Regions from separate parts of the Homo sapiens genome. Here region 1 is linked to region 2. Evidence: promoter capture Hi-C in human tissues and cell types (Jung and others, 2019). All regions are on one chromosome and are shown on one strand. The core of a region is centred on a gene start or on the middle of the fragment in contact, and the rest is flanking DNA. Distances in the headings are between cores, read along the strand shown. Region 1 holds the start of MIR548Y (microRNA 548y). Region 2 holds the start of RPL10L (ribosomal protein L10 like).

Region 1 (6,753 bases), core at 1,587-4,086, 1.1 Mb after region 2:
ATTCGGGTTTATTCTTGCAGGTACCAGTTTGTCTCGCTTCCCTCATTTTACGTCCATTTTATCTTTCAGACTGTGTGCGCTGATGACTTTAGGCTCAGCACTAGACACAGAAACAATAGTTTCACAAAGACTTTTCAACAGTTTCCACAAATATATAAGGCAAATCCCTATTACAAATCCCTTATTATACACAAATCTGGTGGTACTGCTTCTCAGATCAGACTCTGACATAGAGACTATAAAATAAGTAGCTTTAAATTGAATGAAGCAGGAAAGAGGAAATCAATTACTATAAGAGATAAGGTGACATAAAAAGCAGATATATTTGAAAAGAGGCCAAATAGAAGTTATAAAATGAAAAATATATTAAATAAGAAAAACCTTCTAATATATAGATTTATATATATATAATATATATAAATCCTGAACAGGATATGGGTGGCTTTGACAAAATTCCACATAAACAGTAGTTCAGATAAGATAGATGTTTATTTCTCTTTCTTTTTTTTTTTTTTTTTTGAGACAGAGTCTCGCTCGTCGCCCAGGCTGGAGTGCAGTGATGCATCTTGGCTCACTGCAAGCTCCGCCTTCCGGGTTCACGCCATTCTCCTGCCTCAGCCTCCGGAGTAGCTGGGACTACAGGTGCCCGACACCACGCCCAGCTAATTTTTTGTACTTTTGTTAGAGACGGGGTTTCACCGTGTTAGCCAGGATGGTCTCGACCTCCTGACCTCATGATCCGCCTGCCTCTGCCTCCCAAAGTGCTGGGATTACAGGCGTGAGCCACCACGCCCGGCCTATTTCTCTTTCATAAATTGTAAGCATTTCAGGACTTCGATGATAGATAAGACATTTCCACATTGTCAACAAACCAGATCCTTTATTGTAACTTCCTCAATTAGCTTTTTAATCAGAGTCCAGCTTGGATGCTCCACATCTGCCATGTCTGCACCCCCACAGTGAAGGTGTTACTAGGTTGGTGCAAAAGTAATCACGGTTTTTGCCACTGAGAGTAATGGCAAAAACAGTGATTACTTTTGCACCAACCTAATAGTTTAGGCTGCTGTCACAAACTACTATAGGCTGGTGGCTTAAACAACAAACAGTTGTTTCTCATAGTGCTGGAGGCTAGGAAGTTCAAGATAAAGGTGCTGGCAGATTATGTGTCTGTTGAGGCTCACTTCTTGGTTTATAGACTACCAAGATCTTATTTTCATATGAAGGGAAGAGAGCTAGCTACTCTATGGCCTCTTCTCATAAGAGCACTAATCCCATCCATGAGAGCACTAACAGTATTACTTCATCGACTCTGAAAGGTACCACCTCCAAACACTATCACATTGAGATGAGGGATTACGGTTTCAACATATGAATTTAGGGGGCCACAAACATACATTCCATTGTAGTGGGAAAGAAGAATGGGAAGACCTACTCTTTTCCTTTTAAAACTGTGATCCAAATGTTGTACATCAATTTCACGTATATACCATTTAACTGACCCAAAGTAGCTGCAAAAAGTGCTGAAAAATGTTATATTTAGGTAAATGGACACATATTCAGCTAAAAATAGCATTACTACACGAAATATATGGATATTGAGAAAGCAAATAATAGACTCCGACACGATGATTAAAAAGCAGATAATTCTCAACAGGCAATTAACAGAGAGAAAGAGCTGAGGATTTTACAGTTACTAAAAGCAAGTTTAAGAGATAAATAAGATAATAGATTAAAATGGGATAGATTCAATGAAAGAATAAGAGGGAATGAGATGGTAATGATGATTTTTTCAAAATCAATAGCATGAACCTAATATTTGAGAAGCACACTGGATCTGCTGCAAAATAAGATGAAATTACACACACACGCACAGACACACACACACACATACACACACACACACACACACACACACACACAGTGCTAAAACCAAAACCAAACACCCAAGACATAAAGATCTTCAGAATCAACATAAATAACTTATGAGGAAAACTACTAGCTTCTTTATAAAATCTACATTTCAATGCACTGCTGTGGTTGCAGGGAAATAAGTAAATCTCCAAGCACCCCTTAAATAAACAACCTAATAAACATGCAAAAAATGACCTGAATCCTGAGATAGAATCAAAGAACAGTGCGCTACCTGCAAGACACAAATGGGAAAGTTGGAGCTAGCCTGAGACAAGTGTTGAAATTAGCATTGTGTTCCAGAGACTAAGCTTGAGGGAGCTGATCCTGGAAACCTGGCATTATGTCAGCAAGCCTGGTCCCAGGTCTTACTACATCAAACTCCTAGCAGAGATAATTTCAAATTCTACCCTGGAGAAAAAGTTGACCCTAGGATACCTAAAGATTAAGATTAAAGAAATCAAGCCATGGTGAGTGAGACAGCAGAAACAACAAATAGCAAACATCTAATTAAGACTCCCAATGGCTTCAGATATAGAAATTATCAGAAATTGAATGTAAAATGCTATATATGAAATGTTTAAATAAATAATAGGTGAAATTACAAAATCAGTAAACACGAAAATGTCAAGAATGAACAGACACAGAATTTTACTTCTGGCCATGCTGATTAACAGAGACAGGAGCTTTCCTAACATTATAAATATCTGGAAAACTTGGAAAATGTATGAGTCAAATTCTTTCAGATATAGGAGATTAGGCAATTTAGGATTATGGTCCAAGGGAAGTGGAAACAAAGTGAGCTCTATTAACTGCCTGGAACTACTTTCCAACCTGTGGTGCAGAGGGGGTCACTAGCATGATCTCACTGAGTTGAGTAAACAGAGATCAGAGTTAGGGAAGACTGACTTACCTGGAATATTGAATGTGTAGGACACATTACCAGTGAGAAGGAAAGTAGGTGAAGGAGGAGCTCCAGGAATATGCACAGGGGTCTCCTTGAGAATGTTCTAGGTACTAAGTTGTACATGCATGGGAAAAGTCAAAGGGCTGGGAGCTTTAAGCTGAAGGACTCCCAGAGCTCAGGTAGGGCGGGGAAATGTTTACTTCTGAACCAACCAGAATAGATTGAACATCTACAACATTCAGTGGAAACATGAGAAGGTTCAGGCCTTAGTATAAGTGCTAAAGTAGTCCCGAGGTAAAGAATTCTCTAAGTCCAGCCTAAAAAGCTTAAAAGCAAACCTCTAAAGAATCACACTGATCCACAATTACATACTTACTTAGCCAAATGAAATTGACATTTGTAAAAGGATGGCAACAAAATCCAAACACTCAACAATATAGCTCTCATAGTTTGGGGCCAAATTTAAAATTACTGTATATGAGAAGAAGCAGGAAAATGTGAGCCATGACCATGAGAAGAATCAGTGAAGAGAAACAGAAACTGAAAGAATTGGTGGATTTATATGAGTAGGGCTTCACAAAAGCTGTTTTAAATGTGTTCAAAAATTTTAAAAGAAACATGAATAAAAATAGATATGGAAGGTATAAAAATGAAGCAAATGCAAAATTTAGAATTAAGAAGTAAAATACATAAAATAAAAAAGTCCTGATTTTTAATAGTAGCCAGACACTGAAGAAGAAAATGTCAATGAACTCACACATATGATATGAAACTATCCAAACTGAAACACAAAGAAAAATAATAAAAAGCCACTGAACAGTCTCAGTGATGTGTGAAGCAATTTCAAGTGGCACAGACATTACGTGATTGATGATATAAAAACGAAGATGTAAAAATATTTGCAAAAATAATTACCACAAATTTGTCCCATTTTGAATTAAACTATAGACAACTAAGTTTTCAAAACTTAACACACCTTTGCCCTCATATAAAGAAAAAGATAATCACAGTGAGGCACATTATAACCAAATTGTTGAAAAAATCAGTGATAAAAGAGAACACCTTAAAAATAGCTAAAGAAAAATTACACATTACTTACTCAGGAACCAAAATAAGAATATTGGCACATTTCTCATCTGAAATATTACAATCCAGAAAACAATGAAAGTATATGGTTTATATTTATGTGGGTAAATGCATTGTTTCTCCTCATTTAAAAATATTTAGAAATTGTTAAAAGCAAACAGATTATAACAAGTGGAAATAAAGGGAATGTCAACAATAACAATTGTAACAATAAAAGGATGAGGAGGCCGGGCGCGGTGGCTCACGCCTGTAATCCCAGCACTTTGGGAGGCCCAGGCGGGTGGATCACGAGGTCAGGAGATCAAGACCATCCTGGCTAGCATGGTGAAACCCCATCTCTACTAAAAATACAAAAAACTAGCTGGGCGTGGTGGTGGGCGCCTGTAGTCCCAGATACCCGGGAGTCTGAGGCAGGAGAATGGCATGAACCCGGGAGGTGGAGCTGGCAGGAAAAAAAAAAAAAAAAAAAAAAAAGGATGAGAGGTAGGAAGTAGAAGCATAAAATTGTAAGATTCTTATGTTGTAAGTAAATATATGATATTAGTGTGCTATTATTCAAATACATAATATGGTAAGTTTGTAAACATGAGAAGAACTACAATTCACCCTTGAACAACTTGACCCCCATGCAGTCGAAAAATCCACGTATAACTTTTGACTCCCAAAAAACTTAACTGCTATTAGCCTTCTTTAGACCAGAAGCCTTATCAAAAACATAAACAATTGACGCATATTTTGTATGTTACATGTATTATATTCTGTGTTATTAACATAAATTAAGCTAAAGAAAAGAATATGTTATTAGGAAAATCCTAAGGAAGAGCAAATACGTTTACAATTTATTAAGCAGAAGTGGTCCATCATAAAAGCCTTCATCCTTACCTTATCAGCTTCACCTTGAGTAGGCTGAGGAGGAGGAGGAGGAAGGGAGGGGTTGTTCTTGCTGTTTTGGGGTGGCAGAGGTGGAACAGTTGGAGGAGGTAGAAGGAGAAGAAGGAGAGAGGCTGATGCACTCAGTGTAACTTTTATTGAAAAATATCCATAGACAATTGGACATGCACAATTCAAACTTGTGTTGTTCAATGGTCAACTGTGCTACAAAATCAAAAAGTGGGGCATAGTTACTAAGCCAATAGTAGAAATAAAAAAAATTACTTAAAACCACAATATCAGTTCAAAACAAGGCAGGAAAAGTGAAAAAATCCTAAGTAAACAGTAATATATAACATGTTAATAGATTGAAAAATTCAATATTGTTAAGATAATTTTCTTGCATTAAGCTGCAGAACAAGCAAAATACCAATTAAAATCTCAGCAGGACTTTTGTAGAAATTGGCAAGCTGATTATAAAATTTCCATGTAATACAAACAATTTTAAATAGCAAGAGTGATTTTAAAAATTAAGGGCAACGTTGAAGAACTTACACTACTAGATTTCAAGACTTATCATACACTGCAGTAATAGATGGAGTGGGGTATTGGCATAAGGACACATATTTAGATTAAAAGAATAACATAATCTGGAAATGTTTACAAGCATATATAGTCAGTTGTTTTTTTTAATCAAATTTGCCAGTGTAATTTAATAGGAAAAGAATGGTGCTGGAACAATAGAATATCAACGTACAACCACTGACAGCGATTATAACCGTAAAATTTAGGTGTTTTGTGGTTGAGGGCATGATGGGACATCTACAAAATAAAGGACAAAATATTTCTTACTGCACTGCAATAAGATGGAAGTACAACATTTGGTAGTCCTTTTTGGATACAGGAGGCAGCATAGTTCACATCTGAGGATGCTGTACCAGACCATGTATTAGGTAATACAAATGTTTGCATTCATTAGTGCACACTAACTATGGTAGAAGTGCTGAAGCACTAAAAAACTTAGTTGGCAATGATTTGTCCAGTTGATAGCAACCCATGTTTGTCGGGGTTCTCTAGATGGACAGAACTAATAGGATAGTGTCTATATGAAGGGGAATTTATTAGGAGAAATGACTCACAGGATCACAAGGTGAAGTCCCACCATTGGTTGTCTTCAAGCTGAGGAGCCAGGAAGCCAGTCCGAGTCCCAAAACCTCAAAAGTAGGGAAGCTGATAGTGCAGCCTTCAGTCTGTGGTGGAAGGCCCAAGAGCCCCTGGCAAATCACTGGTGTGAGTCCAAGAATCCAAAAGCTGAAGAACTTGGAGTCTGATGTTCAAGGGCAGAAAGCATCCAGCATGGAAGAAAGATGGAGGCCAGAAGGCTTAGCCAGTCTGGTCTTTCCACGTGTTTCTGTCTGCTTTTATTCTGGCCATGCTGGCAGCTGATTAGATTGTCCCCACCCGGATTGATTGTGGATCTGGCTTTCTCAGTCCACGGACTCAAATGTTAATCTCCTTTGGCAATACCCTCACAGACACACCTAGGAACGATGCTTTGCATCCTTCAATCCAATCAAGTTGACACTCAATATTAACCATCACGCAACCCAAGTGTGAGCATGAGGTGCATGTAGACATGGTAACCATGGTGATGTAAGGAAGACTATGCATAAATTCAGTAGCATGGGTTCCCTGTCTCCAACACAAATTTATCTCCTGTTACTGCATGATGTCCATACATACAAGACAATCACTGAGTCCCCCTAATAGCACCATTCTGCGTGGAGACCAATTAGCTGCTGGGTGGTGCGTAGTGGAACAATGGCATGTTAAGTTAAAGATTTCAGTGGGATGCCTAGCTCAGACATGAGACCATACAAAGATGGGATGTCACTTTTTAGGATGTGTATTCTAAATCAACAACCATAATATGATTTTTTCCGAGTAGGTAAAATACATGAGTCTAAAATCAGGGACTTAAA
Region 2 (6,546 bases), core at 3,413-5,912:
TCTTTTTCCCACCCTCTCATCCCAAGGCCATGGAAAAGTAACACCCAGAGAGAAGTCTAGATGAACAGAAAAAAGTCAAAAGTTTTGTGAAAGAGTGACAAGAGAAATGCATCCACAACCTTTCCGAGTAAATAGAATGTCTGAGCAGAACAGTCTACATCACATATAAGCCATATAAAAATAATGACATGATAGCCATATAATCATCTTTGGAAAATAAAAATGAGAAGAAAGAAAAATAATATTGAATTTAACAAGTGGTTAAAGTAGATAAAAAATCCAGTTGGGGGACAGGAAAGTAAGCTAATCCCCACAAGGGAGTCATATGTAGAGGATAATCAGTAAAGCATAAATTTTTTCAAAAGAATTCCACAAAGAGATGACAAAATACAATGACATGAAACTGGGAATTACAAAACTAAAGATTAAAAAAAAACTTGAAACAGAATATTGAATCCAATTAAATCTAGAACCAAGAGTATATAACTGGAAGCAATAATGATTGCAAAACAGAATATTAAGGTTATAAATCAAGAAAAAATAGTAATACAAGCACCAAAAATTAGGAGATGAGGAGTGAAGCAAGAGCAAATGTAATAATAATAACATCAATATTAACTGAATATCAATGTTGTATAATGAATATGTGCAAATTACAATACTGTTCAATTTCTCTACCGGGTACAGTGGCTCACACCTATAATCCTAGCACTTTGGGAGGCTGAGCTGGGCAGACTGCTTGAGCCCAGGAGCTTGAGATCAGCCTGGGCATCATGAAAAAATCCCATTTCTACAAAAAATACAAAAACATTATCTGAGCATGGTGTTGCATGCCTGCAGTCCCAGCTACTTGGGATGCTGAGATGGGAGGATCACCTAAGCCTGGGAAGGTTGAAGCTACAGTAAGCCATGATCACACCACTGCACTCTAGCCTGGGTGAAAGAGTAAGACCCTGTCTCAAAAAAATAAATAATTATCATAATAATAAAAATCAATTTCTCAATGCATTATCTCATTTAATCCCCAAAACAATCCTATAACTAAAGTGTCTTCACCTCACTTTATAGAAGGCAAAATTACTAAGAATGGCGATACTTAGTAATTTGCCCAAGAAAGTAAAAAGGCTGAGATTCAAATCCAATCATCCTGACACCAGCTTTTCTTATCTATTGTTAAGTGACAATTACCTCATTTTGAATTATTATTGCAGGTATAATTTAATTATTTTGACTTTACTATTTTTTACCTAATTTGCTGTTAAAAAAGAATACATAGGTATTTTTATGAAAATGAAGTCATTACACTAAAATACAAACAAAAACAAAAGGGCATTAATATAAAGCCAGGAAGATGAACGAGGTGAAATGATGTCTTAGCTCAATCCTTAGATTAATAGTAACATTATGAGAACCAGAAAGCTCTACTTAAATTATGTAACGGTAGGCAGTACAAGGCTGCTAAAGCAGAAGTAAAATGCTTGCCAGTATTAGTGACAGCCAATTCATGGAAGAGCTAATGTACATTTTTTAAAAATTAAAGATTTTCGGCCGGGCGCGGTGGCTCACGCCTGTAATCCCAGCACTTTGGGAGGCCGAGGCGGGCGGATCACAAGGTCAGGAGATCAAGACCATCCTGGCTAATATGGTGAAACCCCGTCTCTACTAAAAATACAAAAAAAAAATTAGCCGGGCGTGGTGGCGGGCGCCTGTAGTCCCAGCTACTCGGGAGGCTGAGGCAGGAGAATGGCGTGAACCCAGGAAGCGGAGCTTGCAGTGAGCGGAGATCGCGCCACTGCCCTCCAGGCTGGGTGACAGAGCAAGACTCCGTCTCAAAAAAAAAAAAAAAAAAAAAAAATTAAAGATTTTCAAGCAAAATATGCTTAATACAGTTGCATATTTTGAGGGAGTAGAAATGATGGATTATATAATAATCATTTATGAAATGTGCTTTTCGAAACTAAATTGATACACTACATAGTCCTACTGAAGTTTTCTTCATCTTATTCAGTCAGTATTTTCCATTAAAACCTATATATTTCATCAATTAAATAAAAAAGTTTCATTGGGCAGTATTTGCTGGAATTTCATTAACTACACTTGTATTCTTTTATTTAAAACGAGCAAACAGTTCATTTTATTGCAGCAGTAGATGAACAGAAATATGTTCCCAAATGCAATTTTCTATTTTGAGCAGAAATTTTAAAATAACGAACTCTGCAAAATTATAATTAAATGATCCTTCAGCCCAATTGTCTTACTATTTTTTTTTTAAATAATTAGAATGACCCTAAAATAAGAAAATGCTGAAAAAACAAAATAATGACTTGGGGAAAATTAGTAGGAAGGATTTTTAACAAAAACAAGTAAAAGTGCTTGTATGTCAACGTTTAAAAAAAGAATTTATATATAATCTTTATAACGTGAAACTGTGGGAAAATTCAAATAAAAAATTTATTGACAGCTACCTACCAGTTTTTAATGCATTAATTCTTAATCATTCATTTCCTCTTCACTCCCATATCTATATGCATAAACAATTACTGTTACCAATCTCTTAGGGCAAGGAAGTTCATGAGCTTATACTTAACCTCTCTCCCTATATATTTAGTTGAGTGCAGAGTTCCAAGTTTGAAGGTCAAGATGTTTTGAGAGGTTTAAGACCAAAGAGAAAGGGAAATAATGAAGATGGAAAATATTTTCAAAGCTGGGCCATGGTTGTACTAGAAGCTAAGGGGTTGCTGATTTTATTGTGTTTTGTATTGCCTTTCTCTTTTGATTATTATTATTATTTAGAGGTTGAATTTTCGTTTTTGAAAGTGTGGTAAAACGCAAACATGAAAAACGTCTTAAAATAGCAACATAGCTTAAATATATACAAATAGGAAATATCTTATAGCAAGGGCCTAAAATAAATATCCAGCCAGATACAATATGTTAAGACTGACATAGCATTTCTTTAAATAAATGAAAATTAAATAGTAGTGTTTCTTACTATTTCTTTTGTTGTTTTCATTAAATGTGTTGACTTTGAAAAAGAACCGTTAGTCTAAAAACACTGAAGGCACTGTTAGCAGGATTGAGATTCAAAAGGCTAAGTCAATTGTAAAGAACAAGAATTTTTTTTAATGCAGTACAAACTCAGGAATTTTAGCTTATGTAGTTTCAAAAATAAAACAAAAAGCACCTGTGTCATCAACGTAACTCTAATTCAGGGCAAGCACCTACAATTGCAAACTCTCTTTAGGGTCCTTTTATAGCACAGATAACCGATTTAGTGTCATTTTCTCTCTTCTTTTGGTTCTACTGGAGCCCAGATACAAGTAATATGAACTCTGTTGTCACCTATGACCTTTCTATGATGAAAAAAAGATTAGACTGTTATCTCTTGACTGTGAGACAATGTAAAGTTCGTCTGGAAAAGCCTTTCAGAGTGATACTCAATTGTCCTAAGGCTGATAATCAGACGTGTAAGGTAATTCTAAAAACAATGTACAGAAATTTATAGAAAAACATAAGGCAACCAAGTTTAGAAATAAATTACTTCCAAAGAGGCTGTGGGTGAAATATCACTAATGCCTACTATTATTTTCATCGCTACTGTTTAGTTTATATTCTATAAACAAATTTTTTCACTCAAATCTATTTTTTATTCAAGGAATGATAGCTGCATAACTTATGACTTTACTACAAACAAAACTTTCAACATATTGCTCTATACTCTCCTAAATTTAAAGTGTTTGCTTAAAACAGCTTTCTCTATAAATTGTATAGTTTTACTGAAGCAAGGAAGGTAACATTTGCCATTAAAACTGAATAAATAGAAAAAAATTCTCTAGTAGTCTATATTCTAAAACATTGGATATTTAAAAAATATTAAAACTTAATAAGGAGTTATTTTTTGCCAGTAAACAGAATTTATTAGTAAGCATAAGTCAGACCAGCATGGCCCAAGGAGACAGTACTGCCAAAACCTTCATGAGTGCAGAACCCGCCACTTGTCCAAGGGGCCATGACTGGGAACGTACTTGACTCCACAACCATCAGGGATGAGGCACTTCTTGGCCACCATGTCTTCAAATTCGTCAGCATTAAACTTCGTGAAGCCCCACTTCTTGGAGATATGAATCTTCTGGCGTCCAGGGAACTTGAACTTGGCCCTGCGCAAGGCTTCAATCACATGCTCCTCGTTCTGAAGCTTGGTGCGGATGGACATGATGACTTGACCAATGTGGACCCGGGCTACAGTACCCTGGGGTTTTCCAAAGGCACCTCGCATACCTGTCTGGAGCCTGTCAGCCCCAGCACAGGACAACATCTTGTTGATGCGGATGACATGGAAGGGATGGAGCCGCACTCGCATGTGAAAGCCATCTCTGCCACAACTTTTCACCATGTATTTGTTGGCACAAATACGGGCGGCCTCCAGGGCTTCAGAAGACAGCTGCTCATATTCATCAGACACCATGTGGCCACCGAGTGGGAACTCATCCACTTTTGCCTTCTTTCTACCCAGGTCAAAGATGCGGATCTTGGCATCAGGAACCCCTCGGCAGAAACGAGATTTTGGGTACGGCTTGTTCTTACAATACCGGTAACAGCGAGCTGGACGGCGCCCCATGGCGACACAGTAACGTCGGCGGTGCCTCGAAGTCAAAATGCGCTCTCTTAACTACGCCTGCGCGCATTTATATACGTTGCCCCTCGTCCCTCGCGGGAACCATAGAGTCCTGAGGCCGGAACCATAGAGTCCTGAGGAGGATGTGACGACTCTCTTTCAGGACGTCCCAACCAGAGACGCAGGGACGTCTGGCGCCTCAGCGCCTGCGCCAAGTGGCGCGCTTAAGGTGAGCAGAGTCAGCTGTGGGTAGACTCCCCCTGGCGGCCAGGGAAGGAATTGGGCCCCGCCCCAACTGCACAGCTGCTGCTTCCTTTCTGCTAGCCATCTTGGGCTAGGAACTCTTGCTTTCAGCTTTGCTTTAAGTATAAAAGAGGTTATTTCCAGGCAGGAGAATCTCTTGAGCTCAGGAGTTCGAGGCCAGCCTGGGCAATATAGTGAAATGCTGTCTCTACAAAAAAAAAAATATATATATATCAAATAGCTGGGCATGGTGGCACATGCTTGTAGTCCCAGCTACTCAGGAGGCTGAGGTGGGAGGATCGCCTGGGCCCTGCAGGCAGAAACTGCAGTGAGCTGAGATAGCACCACTGCACTCCAGCTTGAGTGACAGAGGGAGACCCTGTCTAAAGAAAAAGAAAAAAAGAAATCCTAGAATTTGAGAGGAAAAATCCTTCCAGTTATTCAACATGCTGTTTCCAGTTTGGTCAGTTCATTTTCCAGAGCTTGTATCTCACTGTCAGCATTTGTAGATCAATTGCTGTTTCTTGGGTTATGTGGCCACCTTCCCTGGATAAAGTGGTTTCTTGGCATGAGTGCTTTGATGAGACTCAGGAAGAGATGAGAGGAAGAGAAGAGAGAGGGATAAAGAGAAGATATCTGTTGTATCTGTAGCTTGGCAATTGTTTTATAAACATGAAACTTTGTTTTTTCTTTATTTGGCCTAAAGAAATGATTTTATTATCAAAATGATATATACAAAATTGAAACACCAACTAGATTTTTTTTAACTTAAGGCTATTTGCATTTTCAAATGTTAAAGCTGCTGAAACTATATAAAAGAGTAACAGTTTGTGTTTTAGTAATCTTTTGCCCCTGAGAATAAATTTAAACTTTTTTTCTTCTCAGAGTTTGTAAAAATATTATGACAGGGATCAGAGTGTAGGAAAGGAGGAAGAAGAGAGAGGAAAAGAAATTAATAGTTTACAAACCCTACTTGCATTTTTCTAGTTTTCTTTTTTGTTTTAATGTTGTTTCACAAATCCATTACATCATGGAACAAAATCCCCCCAATGTGAATATATTCTGTCAATACTCTTTGTTTTAAGGGAGAAAAATAACTCCTGCCCTTAAAGTGAGTGGATTTTTACAAAATACTAAAGATAAAACAATTAAATCTCCCAATGTAGAAAACTTTCTGACCTTTAAGAAAGCTTTCTCACTTCCCTTTTCTTCCTTCATTTCTTCTTTCCCCTTTTTCTCAACTAGTTCCTGTTTAACATATTGAGATAAAGTAGCTAATACCATGTTGCTCTCACCAAGCTTACAAGCCTAGGAGAGGATATAGATACTTCTCATATATCATCATATTACCAAGTGTAAAATGTGCCAAAAAGGAAAAGCAAAGTAAGCCCTGAGACTGTGGGATGAGGCTGGGGATGAGACCTTGATCCAGACTGAGGAATAGACAGGAAAATCTTTATCAGAAAAGAAATTTCATGTAGTGACCATGGCACATGGGGTCTGATGTATAAAAGGCCTGAAGCAGGCAGAAATATGGAACATTTTAAGGAACTTAAAGTCAGGCCAATGTGACTGTGAGTGAGAAAATGAGTCACATAACATGAGCCCAGAGTGTGTGTATGTGTGAGAGAGAAGGGGTCATGCTTTCATACAGGGCCCATTTTACCAAGTTAGGGATCCTGATCTTT

The links. Contacts are between HindIII fragments. The study calls those that stand out against the background at their distance.
Region 1: a fragment that was not itself captured here is called in contact with the fragment with the promoter of RPL10L in region 2 in 1 of the 25 tissues and cell types used here (lymphoblastoid cells).

The regions. Positions count from the first base shown.
Region 1 is chr14:47,760,044-47,766,796 of GRCh38, forward strand. MIR548Y (microRNA 548y) reads right to left here and starts at 1,061; the gene lies at 952-1,061. LINC00648 (long intergenic non-protein coding RNA 648) reads right to left here. Exons shown (of 3, transcript NR_039996.1): 3 at 4,910-6,753. The HindIII fragment of the contact is 5,503 bases long and covers 86-5,588 here.
Region 2 is chr14:46,647,119-46,653,664 of GRCh38, forward strand. It overlaps RPL10L (ribosomal protein L10 like), which reads right to left and starts at 4,663. Exons shown (of 1, transcript NM_080746.3): 1 at 3,892-4,663. The coding sequence starts at 4,618. The coding sequence ends at 3,974. All of the region lies in intron 3 of LOC105370481 (a long non-coding RNA gene), which reads right to left. The HindIII fragment of the contact is 6,030 bases long and covers 527-6,546 here.